Regions from separate parts of the Homo sapiens genome. Here regions 1 and 3 are each linked to region 2. The links are contacts of gene promoters, found by promoter capture Hi-C in blood cells and fetal thymus (Javierre and others, 2016). All regions are on one chromosome and are shown on one strand. The core of a region is centred on a gene start or on the middle of the fragment in contact, and the rest is flanking DNA. Distances in the headings are between cores, read along the strand shown.

Region 1 (4,198 bases), core at 104-2,603, 2.5 Mb after region 2:
AGGGCCTTCTATATCCTGGCACCTACTGCTGGGCCTCTGGAGAGAGGGCCCCAGCTCAGTCCTCTCCTGGCCCAGCATAGTGCTCGGTGTTTGGCAGAGCTTGCTTATATGAACAGGTAAGTGGGTGAATAAACAAGTTATTTTTAATTTTAAAAAATGTTTAAAATGTGTCTCAGGTTTCTTCTAATCCAGAGTTGCACAGTGCCATAGGCAGTCAGGAATCTGCCTCCTTCGCATCTCAAACCTGGGATCATTTCCTGATTCCCATCCCACCCTGGCTACAGGCAAGAGCTTCCCCCAACCAAGAGAGAGAGAGTCTTGCTCTGTTGCCCAGGCTCAAGCAATCCTCCCACCTCAGCCTCTCAAGTAGCTCAGACTACAGGCAGCACTGCCATGCCCGGCTAATTTTTCTTTTTTCTTTTTTGTAGACACGGGCTCACTTTGTTGGCCAGGCTGGTCTCAAATGCCTGGCTTCAAGCTATCTTCCATCCTTGGCCTTCCAAAGTGCTGTGATTACATCTCTGAACCACCGTGCCTTGGCAAGAGCTTTCATTTGAAGCAAAATATATACTCAATCCAAAAGCAAAAATTTAGAGAAAATTAAAGTCAGATGGATCCTTATTAAATCATTTTATCCAAACTCCTCATCCTGGACGAGGAAAATGAGGTCCAGAGAAGAGGGGCCAGCAAACTTTCCAACAGCACAGGAGAAAACGCTGGGTTTGTGGGTTATAAAAGGACGGCCCTGCCCTTTGGGAAGTTACTGTCTAGTGAGGAAGACGGAGTGAACCAGGATCAGGCTCCGCCTTAAGAACACATCAGAAAGTGCAAGTAGGCTCAGGCCCTACAAACCAGGCTACGACCAACCCCTGGCCAAACACCAGGCAGCTCCCAGTATAAAACAATCCCCCAATTCCTCAACGAGAAGATCCCAAGAAAAGTTTTTGGACAGCTTAACTGTGTGAGCTTTACAGATGTTGATTAAATAGTCAGATGTCTGCCTATGATCCATATTTTAAATAAGATGATGTGGAACAATGCAGAAATATAGAATTGATTTTGTTCACTCGTACTTTATGAAGATAGTTCCATGCAACTCTTCACTTGCAATTGGACACTGAGGTCCTTCCTCGTCATTACCAGATCCCCTTTGTGAATCATAGGCACAGGTTTTGGGAGCTCGTTCCTAACATTTCCATCTAGTTGTGTGAGAGACAGCAGACAATGCTGTCGTGGAAAACAGTATTCAAGCCTTAAGTATCCACTTTTATCTTAAGAGACTTTCCCCCCATCCCAGTAATGTAACCTGTTACCATTTTGCTTTTTAAAATGGTCTTTAAAAAACTTTACACTGAAATCTAACCTAGTTAATATTGAGATCATATCCCAGGAATAATGACTAAATCCCTTGTCTCCTTTTATGCCAGTTCCTTCTGGTGATCTCCGTGTGATTCTCAAAATTAAAAATTAACATTGGATGAGGTCATTTTAGTGAATGGGTCTTTCGCAAACAGAACTTTTGTGTTTAAATAACGAAGAGAGGCCAAGCACAGAGGCTCACGCCTGTAATCCCAGCACTTTCGGAGGCCAAAGTGGGCAGATCACTTGAGGTCAGGAATTTGAGACCAGCCTGGCCAACATGGTGAAACCCCGTCTCTACTAAAAATACAAGAATTAGCCTGGCGTGGTGGTGCGGCACCTGTAATCCCAGCTACTTGGGTGCCTGAGGCAGGAGAATCACTTGAACCCGGGAGGCGGAGGCTGCAGTGAGCCAAGGTCATGCCACTGCACTCCAGCCTGGGTGACAGGGCGAGAATCTGTCTCAGAAAAATAATAAATAAATAAATAAGAAGAGAGAAACTGTGATATGAGAAACTTTGTAAGTACTTTACTAAAGCACTCCCTCTTTTTTGGGGAAAGATTTTTCAGAAAACATTTTATGTTCGGGCAAAAAGCTGTGCTCATCGGGATGCCTTCCTGGAGGAAAAGCATCTTCTGTAGAATTTTGTCGTGCAGGCATGAGCTGGTGACCAGGAGAGCCAGCAGTGTGCACAAACTGTTTTCAAATCAATGTTGCCTCAGTTCTCTGGGTCAGACTAAACTATAATTCTTATTGTTACAATGAGACTTGTATTTCAGGACTGGCCGGAAGAATTTTTGTTGACCCCTCTGAGCAACATCTAGATATTCCCTGCCCTCTTTCCAGCCCTTTGCCAAAGATGTGACTTCAAGCAAGGAGGACCCCTCAGTCCTCATATCTCCATCAGCCCCAGCAGGGACACAGATGGATTTATCTACAACCCATGCTCAAGTGCTCGTGGGGAGGTAATCTTACACTTTTTCTACTCCCAGGACAGAAAGGAATGCCCAAGGTGGCACCTAATCATACACCTCTGACCTTGAGGCAGGTTCAAAAGAGACGTCTAATCACCACCGTGTTTTTGAAACACAATCTCATGCTGTGGCCCAGGCTGGAGTGCAGTTATGCGCTCTTAGGTAACTGCAACCTCGAATTCATGGGCTGGAGCAATCCTCCTGCCTCAGCCCCCAAAGCAACTGGGATGACAGACGTGTGCCACCAGACCTGGCTAATTTTTTAAAAAAAGTTTTGTAGGGATGGAGTGTCACTATGTTGCCCAGGCTAGCCTCAACATCCTGGCCTCAAGTGATGCTCCTGCCTTGGCCTCCCAAAGTGCTGAGATTACAGTTGTGAGCCACTGTGCCAGTCCAACCACAACATTTTTACTACATTTAAGGCAACATCAAACAGGTTTCTGTCTTCTCCAATAGAGTCATGTGTGAATGTAAGCCAGCCCCATTTCCAAACAAGGAGGCTTTCTTCGTGCAGATAATTCTGCAGGTGTCAGATTTTCTACTGATTCCATGCTAAATGAAAGGTCACAATCTGGTGATGTCAAAGGGCCTCCCGTAGCAGAGAGAAGAGTAAGAAACACAGTGGGTGAGATAAGAGAGGTACCCAGGGCACACAGTCATGGGAGGTACTTGGTGCCCTTGCGTGACCCCGAAAGTGAGCACCTCCTTCTGTTGGGAGCCCTAGACTTGCCCCAGTCCAGGCCCTGCTTGGTGATGATGTCACCAGCTGGGGAGCTGGGCTTTCCGTCATTCATCCCATGAGATGGGGACTATTCTAGTTCTTTCTTGTCTTTGAGATTATTGTAACACCTACTTGAGGAATGGACAAGAGAGGGTAAGCCTGAGACAGGACACTACTCAGGAGCACTTTTCTCATCAGGGTGAAGTCTGAAGGGGGCTGAGGCCAGGAGAAAAATAGGAAAGCAAAGCCAGCTCAGGAGCAGCGCGGCCAGACGTGGCGACTGGTTAGCTGGAGGCTCCAGGGAAAGAGAGGGGCAATGAGCCTGTGAGGTGAAGGAAGGGTAGCTGCTTCCAAGCCTGGGAACATCATGTCCAAGGAGAAGCATCCTGCGGAGGGTGAGGGAGGCCTGAGGCTCCAGAAACCAGGTGGCACCTCCCCTCCTGAGGAGGCCTGTGCATTGCTTGCAGGGGCTCATGCAGTGTCCATGCCACGACTATGGCTGTGTCTATGAAATGTGGGGAGGGAGGGTTTCTAGATTGTGGGACTGGCCTGGGACCCTAACAATGGCATCTCCAGGCAAGCACTAAAGGCAAAGAGCTGAGAAATAGCTCGTTTCCTCTTTTTGGACAATTCTAGACAATCCCCTGCCCGGCTTCTCCTCCTTGCCTCCTCCTTTATTTCAGCATCGCCGCCTAGCCTCCCCAGGCCTGCCGTGAGGTTCTGGGGTCCTTCAGACTGGGCGGACCCCTTCTTGTTTGTGGACAGTATCAGGAAGGAGACCCTGAGAGGGGGCTGGAAAATAGGGGACTCTTGCCCTATGCACTCACAGCCAGGTTCACACCTCCCCAGAGTCCACCCCTCCCCTGGCCCCACACAGAAATGAAAACCAATGCAAAGCCACCCTTTAGAAACAGCATGGGCTTTCCTCACCTCAGTTACCTCATCTGTAATGATGACAACAAGCCCCACTGTTACTCACCCCGCGCTTACTATGTGCCAAGCACTATGTGCAGCAAACAGTGGTAGAATGAAGTGGTAGAATCACTGCTTCGTTTCACTGCCCCAATTGTTGTGGTGATACTATTTCACCCATTTTACAGATAAAGCAACTGAAGCTTAGAGAGGTTGAGGAACTCGTGGAAG
Region 2 (4,483 bases), core at 1,984-4,483:
AGAACCATTTGTTTTCTGTTGGATAATTGGTATTTTATCCAATTGTAGGAGTTTTTATATAACAGGAAGATAAGCTCTTTCTCTGTGATGAGTTGAAAATAATTTTTCCAGTGTTATTTATCCTTTGACTTTATTTGTGGTGTTTTGTTATTTTAAATCAATGAAAGGGTTTTGTTTCTATATAGTTACATTAATGAATCTTGCTTTTTTTTTTTTTTTAGGGATTCTAGATTTTGTAAATAGTTGAAAGTTCTACCACATTCAGGCTATGAAAGAATTCTTTCATATTGTCTTAAAATTTCACGTATTTCAAACTTTCATTTGCTTGAAAATAAGCCAGATATGAAGCATGGATCCATTTTTTCCTTCCTACTGGTTACCAAATTGACTCCATGATATTTAGTAATTAGTCTACTTAATAGAAAGCGCATTTATTTCCTTTTTTGTTCTATAGACTACAATTTTGGTTCTGTCCACATGATGGCACCACAACCCCAAAAAAATCATGTTCTCAGTCGGAAAGAAGACAACATAAGATTTACACAGCGTTAATATTTTATTAAATGCCTCCATGTTGTGGCAGACAGACCTGAATTTCACATGGAATGTTCAACAGTTTATCAAATACTGAAGTCCATTTGGTAAAGATACATACCATAGTGTATGCTAATCAAAGAAGAAATTGACATTTAAAAAAAAATCATGACAATCTATTCTTCAGTTTTTTATCTTAGGCCACAAATGAATACACATACACATACACACATATGTATACATATACAGTTTATTATCAACCATAAAGACATGGTGTGTAAACTAGCTTTGATAAATTCTAGTAATATTTTCTAAACCTGCAAGCCTTCTACATCTTAGAGAGTAGGTTTGCACAAATCTGGGAAGCAAAGGTCACCCCTGGGCTTATGAATAAAGAGGATAATTACGTAATTCTGAATTTCCACCCCTAAGCCCCACCCCTTATTCCATCCCTGACAATCTTGGGGTTAAAGTCTATTGTCACTTATGAGAAACATGCCTGGACTTGCCCTGCACTCTTTAAAGAATCAAAAACGGAAGTGACAGCAAAGACTTTCCCTTTCTCCTCGCTAATGGCAAAGCCTTTCCCTTTCTCCTCTCTAATGGCAATAAGCCTCTTTTCCACATTATGCTGGAAGTATTTGAGACACAGTATTTTTGTAAATGTTCGATTAATGTTGATACCACACATACCTAAATTTGACAGTGGACTGCAGCAACTTTTTGTATGTACCTTCCAGGGATTCAATAATCTGGTATTCTAAATTTCTCTGGAATTTAGCTTCAAAAAACTATTTACCATATCCTGTTAACATAGGTAAAAAGATTCAAGTGTGCTGCTAATTAACCTAACCTCGATGATCTAGTAAAAATATACAATAATTACCTAAGTTCTCCAAGCCTCATCTATAAAATGGGAATAATAATGTAGGAGATGAGAATATGCCACCCCAAATATGGCCCTGGGATAAAGATTATTTTAAGATAATTATTTTGAGAACCAGCAGACCCAGGAAATGCTCTAAAAATGGCATATTACCCTTTCGTAAGGGAAACGTACATTCACTAAAAAAAAAAACAACAAAAACAAAAAACAAAAAAACCCCACAAAACTCCATTTGTAAAAGTGTCTCCTCTGTACCAGGAAGAATGACTCTAAATCATGAAAAACTTATCAATGAAGAAATAAGAAACCCCACTCCTGTTTACCGTACATTTCCTGGTCATGATTCCTTAACTTGCCTGCCCCACTCTTTTCTTTTGGTTTAGCTAAAGATAGTATTTAAGCCCGATTTTAAACCATCTCTAATTTTCCTGGTTATCTCCCATGTATATATGAGACGTATATGTTAATAAGCTTCTTTGTTTTCTTGTTAATCTGTCTGGTTACAGCGACCCAGGCCAAAACTTTGAAAGGTGGAAAATTATTTTTCCTTCCTTACAATATTTCTCTCAGAATTGTTGTAGGATGAAATAAGGCATTTAAAAATACTGCACAGTCCTCAATAAATGTTACTCTATCGTAATTAGAACAAGAAAAACAAACAAAAAAACGTGTTCCTAGATTAGTCAAACTGCACAGCAAAATCTGGAAATGGGAAACTAAGCTGTGTTTGCACTCACTGGCCTACGCTCCTCTCTTCATCCTACCAATCTCCCTACCCCAGAAAGTCTCAGATTGACTCTCCAGGAACCAGGGCAGCTCATGAGCCATCTCAACAGATGCATTCGGAAGAAGTCATAGATGACTCTGATTGGAAACTCACAATCGGCATCGATGTTTAGTACTAGTAACTGTCAAAGGCCCACGGTTGTCAACCGCTGCCCACTTCGACACCTAACGGCATTCCGGAACATTCCACAAGATGGCGCCCTTGCTTTCCAATCTTCGGGCTACGGGCGGAGGACGCCTTGCCAGGACGCCGACCTCGCTCTGCAAGGTTCAGGGGCCGACCTCAGACAGAGGCTCGCTCTAGGGGCATGGGCGGGGGCCAGACGGGCCTCGAGTGGGATCCTGGCACGGTTGGCCGATCGGCCCGGGATCCCGGCTGCGGGCCCGTGTCTGCCCTAGCGCGATGGGCTCGAATGCCCGGCTCCACGAATCCCGGCCTTTCACCCCCACGGCCTCTCGGCACTGCCCCAGCTAGACACCAGCGAGCTCGTCACAGCGCGGGCAGGCACTGCGGGGCAGCTGCAGACGAGCCCTGTCATACGGCCGGAGGAGGCCTCGCCTGCCCGTGCGGCGGGCTCCGGGCACCCTGATACCTTGACACAGGAGGCCCCGGGCGGCCGGGAAGGGCTGTGCGGGGGAGGGACTGCGTCTACACCCGCGCCCGACTCGCTCGGGTCACGGCACTGCCCTGCCACCAGGCGGCTGGGGCGGGGGTGAGGCCAGGCGTCGGCCCTCGCGATTCTGTTTTGTACGCTGAGGCTCGGAGCCTTCGAAGAACGGGACAGCGGGGCCCACGGACGGCTCTGAAGGCCTTCCCGCGGCCGCAAGAGATCTCGGCGGCCGGCGTTTGAGGCGCGCGGCTCCGCTGGGAAGCGAGACCCGGGTGGCGGGACAAGACTTGCTTCCCGGCCACGCGCGCTCGGCCGGCCGTGGGGCGGGGCATAGGCCGTGACGTGATGTCGCGTATCGAGTCTCCGCCCCCTTCCCGCCTCCCCGTATATAAGACTTCGCCGAGCGCTCTCACTCGCACAAGTGGACCGGGGTGTTGGGTGCTAGTCGGCACCAGAGGCAAGGGTGCGAGGACCACGGCCGGCTCGGACGTGTGACCGCGCCTAGGGGGTGGCAGCGGGCAGTGCGGGGCGGCAAGGCGACCATGGAGCTTTTGCGGACTATCACCTACCAGCCAGCCGCCAGCACCAAAATGTGCGAGCAGGCGCTGGGCAAGGGTTGCGGAGCGGACTCGAAGAAGAAGCGGCCGCCGCAGCCCCCCGAGGAATCGCAGCCACCTCAGTCCCAGGCGCAAGTGCCCCCGGCGGCCCCTCACCACCATCACCACCATTCGCACTCGGGGCCGGAGATCTCGCGGATTATCGTCGACCCCACGACTGGGAAGCGCTACTGCCGGGGCAAAGTGCTGGGAAAGGTGACAAGCGGAGGGCGCCGGGCTGCCGGGCGGGCGGGAGGTCTGTCCGGGCGACCCCAAGCCGGGCAAGCCCGCGGGGTCCCTCGCCCGCCGCTTCCGGGTTTTTCGGGGGTCCGATCCCAGCGCGAGGTGGGCTCCTCACCTGCCCTCTGGCTTTTGTGCGCCGGCAGCGCTGGGGATCGGCTTTGCATTCTTAGCCTCAGAACTGTGTGTCTCCCGCAGCCCAGAGAAATGCATCTTGAGTCTGGAAGCGAGGGCTTTCTACATCAGACCTCTCTCCCTCTATCTGCTCCCAGGGAATTTTCCTGACAAGTCTCATCAGAGATTATTTTTCATGTCTCCCCGTTCCAACTCCCTCCATAAAGCTCCCCTTTATAAAAGAAGAAGAGAAACTGTTTGAACTTGCTGTTTCCAGCAATGCATTTCTCTTCATGAGGGAGCTTTAACGAAGTCGAATGCCTCCCTCTGTCCACCCTCCTCCATTCCTCAATTTTTTTTTTTTTGCTTTTCTTTCTTCCCATTTATTTATTTATTTAAAATATCTGCCGTCCATTTTTGTGCCATCCTCAATTCCGTCTCGGCTTTGTTTCCTTTCAGGGTGGCTTTGCAAAATGTTACGAGATGACAGATTTGACAAATAACAAAGTCTACGCCGCAAAAATTATTCCTCACAGCAGAGTAGCTAAACCTCATCAAAGGGAAAAGGTGCGTATGACTCTTGAGTAAAGTATTTTCTTTGTGTGCAAGGATGGCCCTTCCCTGTTAGGAAAATGTCTTCTGCATGTGTAATCACTGGCTTTTCCGAGGTGACTGGAAGCTAATAAGCCTTACCTTGCTTTTTCATTTAGATTGAC
Region 3 (4,144 bases), core at 456-2,955, 2.2 Mb after region 2:
CAGTCTGGGAAGTGAGGAGCACCTTTTCCCGGCCGTCATCCCGTCTAGGAAGTGAGGAGCGTTTCTGCCCGGCCGCCCATCGTCTGGGATGTGGGGAGCACCTCTGCCCGGCCGCCCCGTCTGGGAAGTGAGGAGCCCCTCTGCCCGGCAGCCACCCCGTCTGGGAGGTTTACCCAACAGCACATTGAGAACGGGCCATGATGACGATGGCGGTTTTGTCAAATAGAAAGGGGGGAAGTGTGGGGAAAAGAAAGAGAGATCGGATTGTTACTGTGTCTGCGTGGAAAGAAGTAGACATAGGAGACTCCATTTTGTTCTGTACTAAGAAAAATTCTTCTGCCTTGGGATGCTGTTAATCTATAACCTTACCCCCAACCCCGTGCTCTCTGAAACATGTGCTATGTCCACTAAGGGTTAAATGGATTAAGGTCCGTGCAAGATGTGCTTTGTTAAACAGATGCTTGAAGGCAGCATGCTCGTTAAGAGTCATCACCACTCCCTAATCTCAAGTACCCAGGGACACAAACACTGCGGAAGGCGGCAGGGCCCTCTGCCTAGGAAAACCAGAGACCTTTGTTCACATGTTTATCTGCTGACCTTCCCTCCACTATTGTCCTATGACCCTGCCAAATCCCCCTCTCCGAGAAACACCCAAGAATGATCAATAAATACTAAAAAAATTTAAAAAAAAATTATAAACGTTGCACAAAATACATAAAGCAATTGCCTGAAGGCACTGGAGACACCAAGCACAAGCGAGATTTAAAGAAAACCCTATGGCATGAGGTCCACATACATTCCAGATATTCTCTTGAGGACATGTACACACTGCAGAATAGGGATATACAAATACAACAGTCTTAGTGGGCTGAGAAAGTAGAAGTAAGAATTTGGAGCTGCCAAAGCAGGCAGGACTTAGGAAAGTCCTGAAGAAGGGAAACAACAAAGGTGCCTACAATTCTGCAAACTTATTTCCCTAAAGTTTATGGGTTCCTAAGCTGGCACACAAAATATGAAACAAGAAATAAAGAAATAGAAGGAGAGAAAGACACAAAGAAAGAGAGGGGGGAGGAAGGGAGGGAGGAGGGAGAGAGGAAAAGAAGGAAGGAAAGAAGGGAGGGAGAGAGGGAGGGGAGGAGAGAGAGAAAAGAAAGAAAGGAGAGAAAGAGAAAAGAAAGGAAAGAAAGAAGAAAGAAAGAGAAAGAAAGAAAGAAAGATAAAGAAAGAAAGAGAAAGAAAGAAAGAGAGAAGGAAGGGAAGGAGGGAGACAGGAAGGAAGGAATGAAGGAAGGGAGGCAGGGAGGGAGGGAAGGAGGATAGCTGAAGATCTGATCAGAGATTTCAGTACTAGGGAGGCAAAGGTCATAATTAAAACCTTTCCAAAATAGAAAAACCTTGGCGAATGTTCCAGGCTTTGAACCGTCCAGGCTTTGAACCAAATTATGGAAATCCAAGTAGAAATTTATTTAAAGTAAATAGATTTATAGGTGAATCAGATGTTAACAATAACTGACAGGGAGTTTAAAATAACTGTGATTAATATGGTCAAGAGAATGGAGAAAATGATAGACAAAATGGAAGAAAGGTTGGAGAATTTCATTGGGGAAATGAATCTATTTTTAAAAAGAGACAAACAATTGGTAAAATTTTTAAAGCACCAAAAACATCAATTATGTAGAATAAATCTGATAGAAGTTGTATAAGATCTCTACGATGAAAACTACAGATAGTTGCTGAGAGAAGTAAAAGAAGATCTAAGTAAATGACAGGTAATATCATGAACATGGAATTCAAAGATGCAACAGTCTTAAGATATCAAGTCATTCCAAATGGATATATAAATTCAATGCAATCCCAATAAAAATGCTATCAATTTTTTTGGTAGAAATTGATAAGCTATTTGTAAAATTGATATGGAAATAAAAAGAACTCTGAATAGCTAAGGCAATACTGAAGAAAAAAGACAAAACCTGATATCAAAGCTAGAGAAATTAAAACAGTATGGTACTGGAACAAGAAAAGACAACAGATCATGGAATAAATTAGACTTCAGAAACAGACCCACATCCATAGGATTTATGATAAATCTGATTTATGATAAAGGCATCACAGAAACTCAGTGGAGAAAGAATTATCTTTTCAATAAATGGTGGTGGTTCAAGTGTATATTCATATGGGAAAAAAAGACTCTTGTCCCTTACCTCACATTATACACAAAAATTAATTCAAGGTAGATCATATATCTAAAGACGAAAAGTAAAACAATAAAAATTCTAGAAGAAAACACAGTAAATATGTTCAGGGACCTCAGGTTAGGCCATAGTTTCTTAGACAGAACACATGGAAATACTGATAAATTGGATTTAATTAAAATAAAGAAATTCTGTTCAATGAATGACATGGTTAAGAGAATGGAAAAAGCAAACCTCAGACTGGTATAAAATATTTGTTATTCAGACATTTGCATGCACACACACATATGGCAAAGAATTTATATCTAGACTATATTCTTGTATAAAAGTTCTATAAATTGATAAGAAAAAGATATACAACACAATTTTTAATGTTGAGCCAGAATCCTGAACAAGCACTCCACAAAAGAGGATATGAAAATGATCAATATGCAAATGAGAAAGGTGTTCAGCATCATTATTCATGAGAAACAAAACACATCTTGATACCATGTGCTGCTTTGTAGTCTAGAAATGCCAATATCTCCCCTTGAAAAAGCAATTACAAAGCCACAGCTCTGAATACCAGAAAGTGAATTAGAATAAGTGTCAATTATTATAAACAGCCTTGTTTAATTTGGGGAATGGGGTTTCTGCTAAGGTTTTTCATCTTGCAGTGAACGGATTTTGATTCTCTATTGCAGTTATTTAAGTCACTCTTGCCAGCCTAGTGCAAAAAGTGAAAAGTCATAACAGAAACCTTACTCTTGGAATTAAACAGGGCTGCTCACAATTGTTGAAATCCATCTGAATTCACATTCTCATATTCAAAGCTGTGGTTTTGCAATTGCTTTCTTACAAAGAAACTGGAAAAATAAGGCTGCAGGGGTTGAGAATTGTGACCATTTTTGCAATCTAGCATAATGGCTACAAGCACAGGTTCAGGAGCCAGAAAACCTGGGTTTTAATCACTGTTCTGCCGCAGTAGCTGTGTCTTAGTTTCCTCACCAGATATGGAGGACAATGATGGCACATACCTTGTAAAGTTGTGGTAGCTTACATTCTGTCTCACTTTGGTTTTAGCCTAATTTTCTCATTACATTCTGCCTTTTGTTCTAAGCATGTTTTCTAAAATATCATATATTTGTATTTTGCTTTTTAAAAATCATTCTGGGAGTTTTTATACTTAATAGGGGAATTTAATCCATTTACATTATTTGAGAACACTATTATGTTTATTTTTATTCAGATATTCTGTTTTTGTTTTTATTTGTTTGGTTTATAGTTGTTTCTTTTTGCTGTTTCTTATTTTTCCTGGATTTTTGTTGCTTCTTTCTTTCTTATAATAATTTGGAAAATTGCTTACTATTTCTATCTAACTAGTGAATAGGTTTAATTTTTTGATTATCTGACTTTGGGGATGCAGATATTGAAAATAATGCATTCTTTCATAAAAACTACCAAAAAAATAAAAATAATATAGAAAGGCACGAAATAAAATACAAAGTAAAAGTCTTTCTATTCTCACTCTCAATTCACTTCCTCCATGTTAATATTGTGAATAATTTATCATTTTAGTACTTTTGATGGTTGCCATTATTACTTAGAATAATATATTTATCAATATATTTTTAAATTATTCTTTATACTTTTTCTTTAATGGTAACTGATGGTACTAATTATCAATTTATTGCCTCTCTGCTCCAAATTTACTTTTCAATATATGTTCTGAGATAATAGAATTCCTTTAAGCATTTCTCCTTTAAAGAAGGCACTACAGGGACATTGCAGGAGACAAGAGGCTCTCCTGAGGTTTCCGACTGTAGCATGAGAGCCAGTAGTGTGGGTATGAAGACGTCTGCACCAGTCTTAGGCCCAGAAAACTCAGACAACTCAAGAATCCTTATAGCCTCAGACTGCCAATAACATTTCTGTGACCCTCTTGACATGGAAACGAACATCTCGAAGGCCTT

Evidence for each region. The method cuts DNA at HindIII sites, captures the fragments that hold promoters and counts their contacts. A CHiCAGO score of 5 or more calls a contact.
Region 1: a fragment that was not itself captured here is called in contact with the fragment with the promoter of PLK2 in region 2 in 2 of 17 cell types (total B cells and naive B cells); the score reaches 24.2 in total B cells.
Region 3: a fragment that was not itself captured here is called in contact with the fragment with the promoter of PLK2 in region 2 in 1 of 17 cell types (total B cells); the score reaches 5.4 in total B cells.

Annotation. Positions count from the first base shown.
Region 1 is chr5:55,929,061-55,933,258 of GRCh38, reverse strand. No RefSeq gene overlaps it. Among named protein-coding and RNA genes, the nearest start is that of IL6ST, 64 kb to the left of the region's middle. The HindIII fragment of the contact is 5,639 bases long and covers 1-4,172 here.
Region 2 is chr5:58,458,836-58,463,318 of GRCh38, reverse strand. It overlaps PLK2 (polo like kinase 2), which reads left to right and starts at 3,233. Exons shown (of 14, transcript NM_006622.4): 1 at 3,233-3,629; 2 at 4,227-4,334; 3 at 4,478-4,483. The coding sequence starts at 3,360. RefSeq lists a silencer at 2,736-2,915. The HindIII fragment of the contact is 4,873 bases long and covers 1,894-4,483 here.
Region 3 is chr5:56,254,228-56,258,371 of GRCh38, reverse strand. No RefSeq gene overlaps it. Among named protein-coding and RNA genes, the nearest start is that of ANKRD55, 23 kb to the right of the region's middle. RefSeq lists an enhancer at 246-753. The HindIII fragment of the contact is 8,279 bases long and covers 1-4,144 here.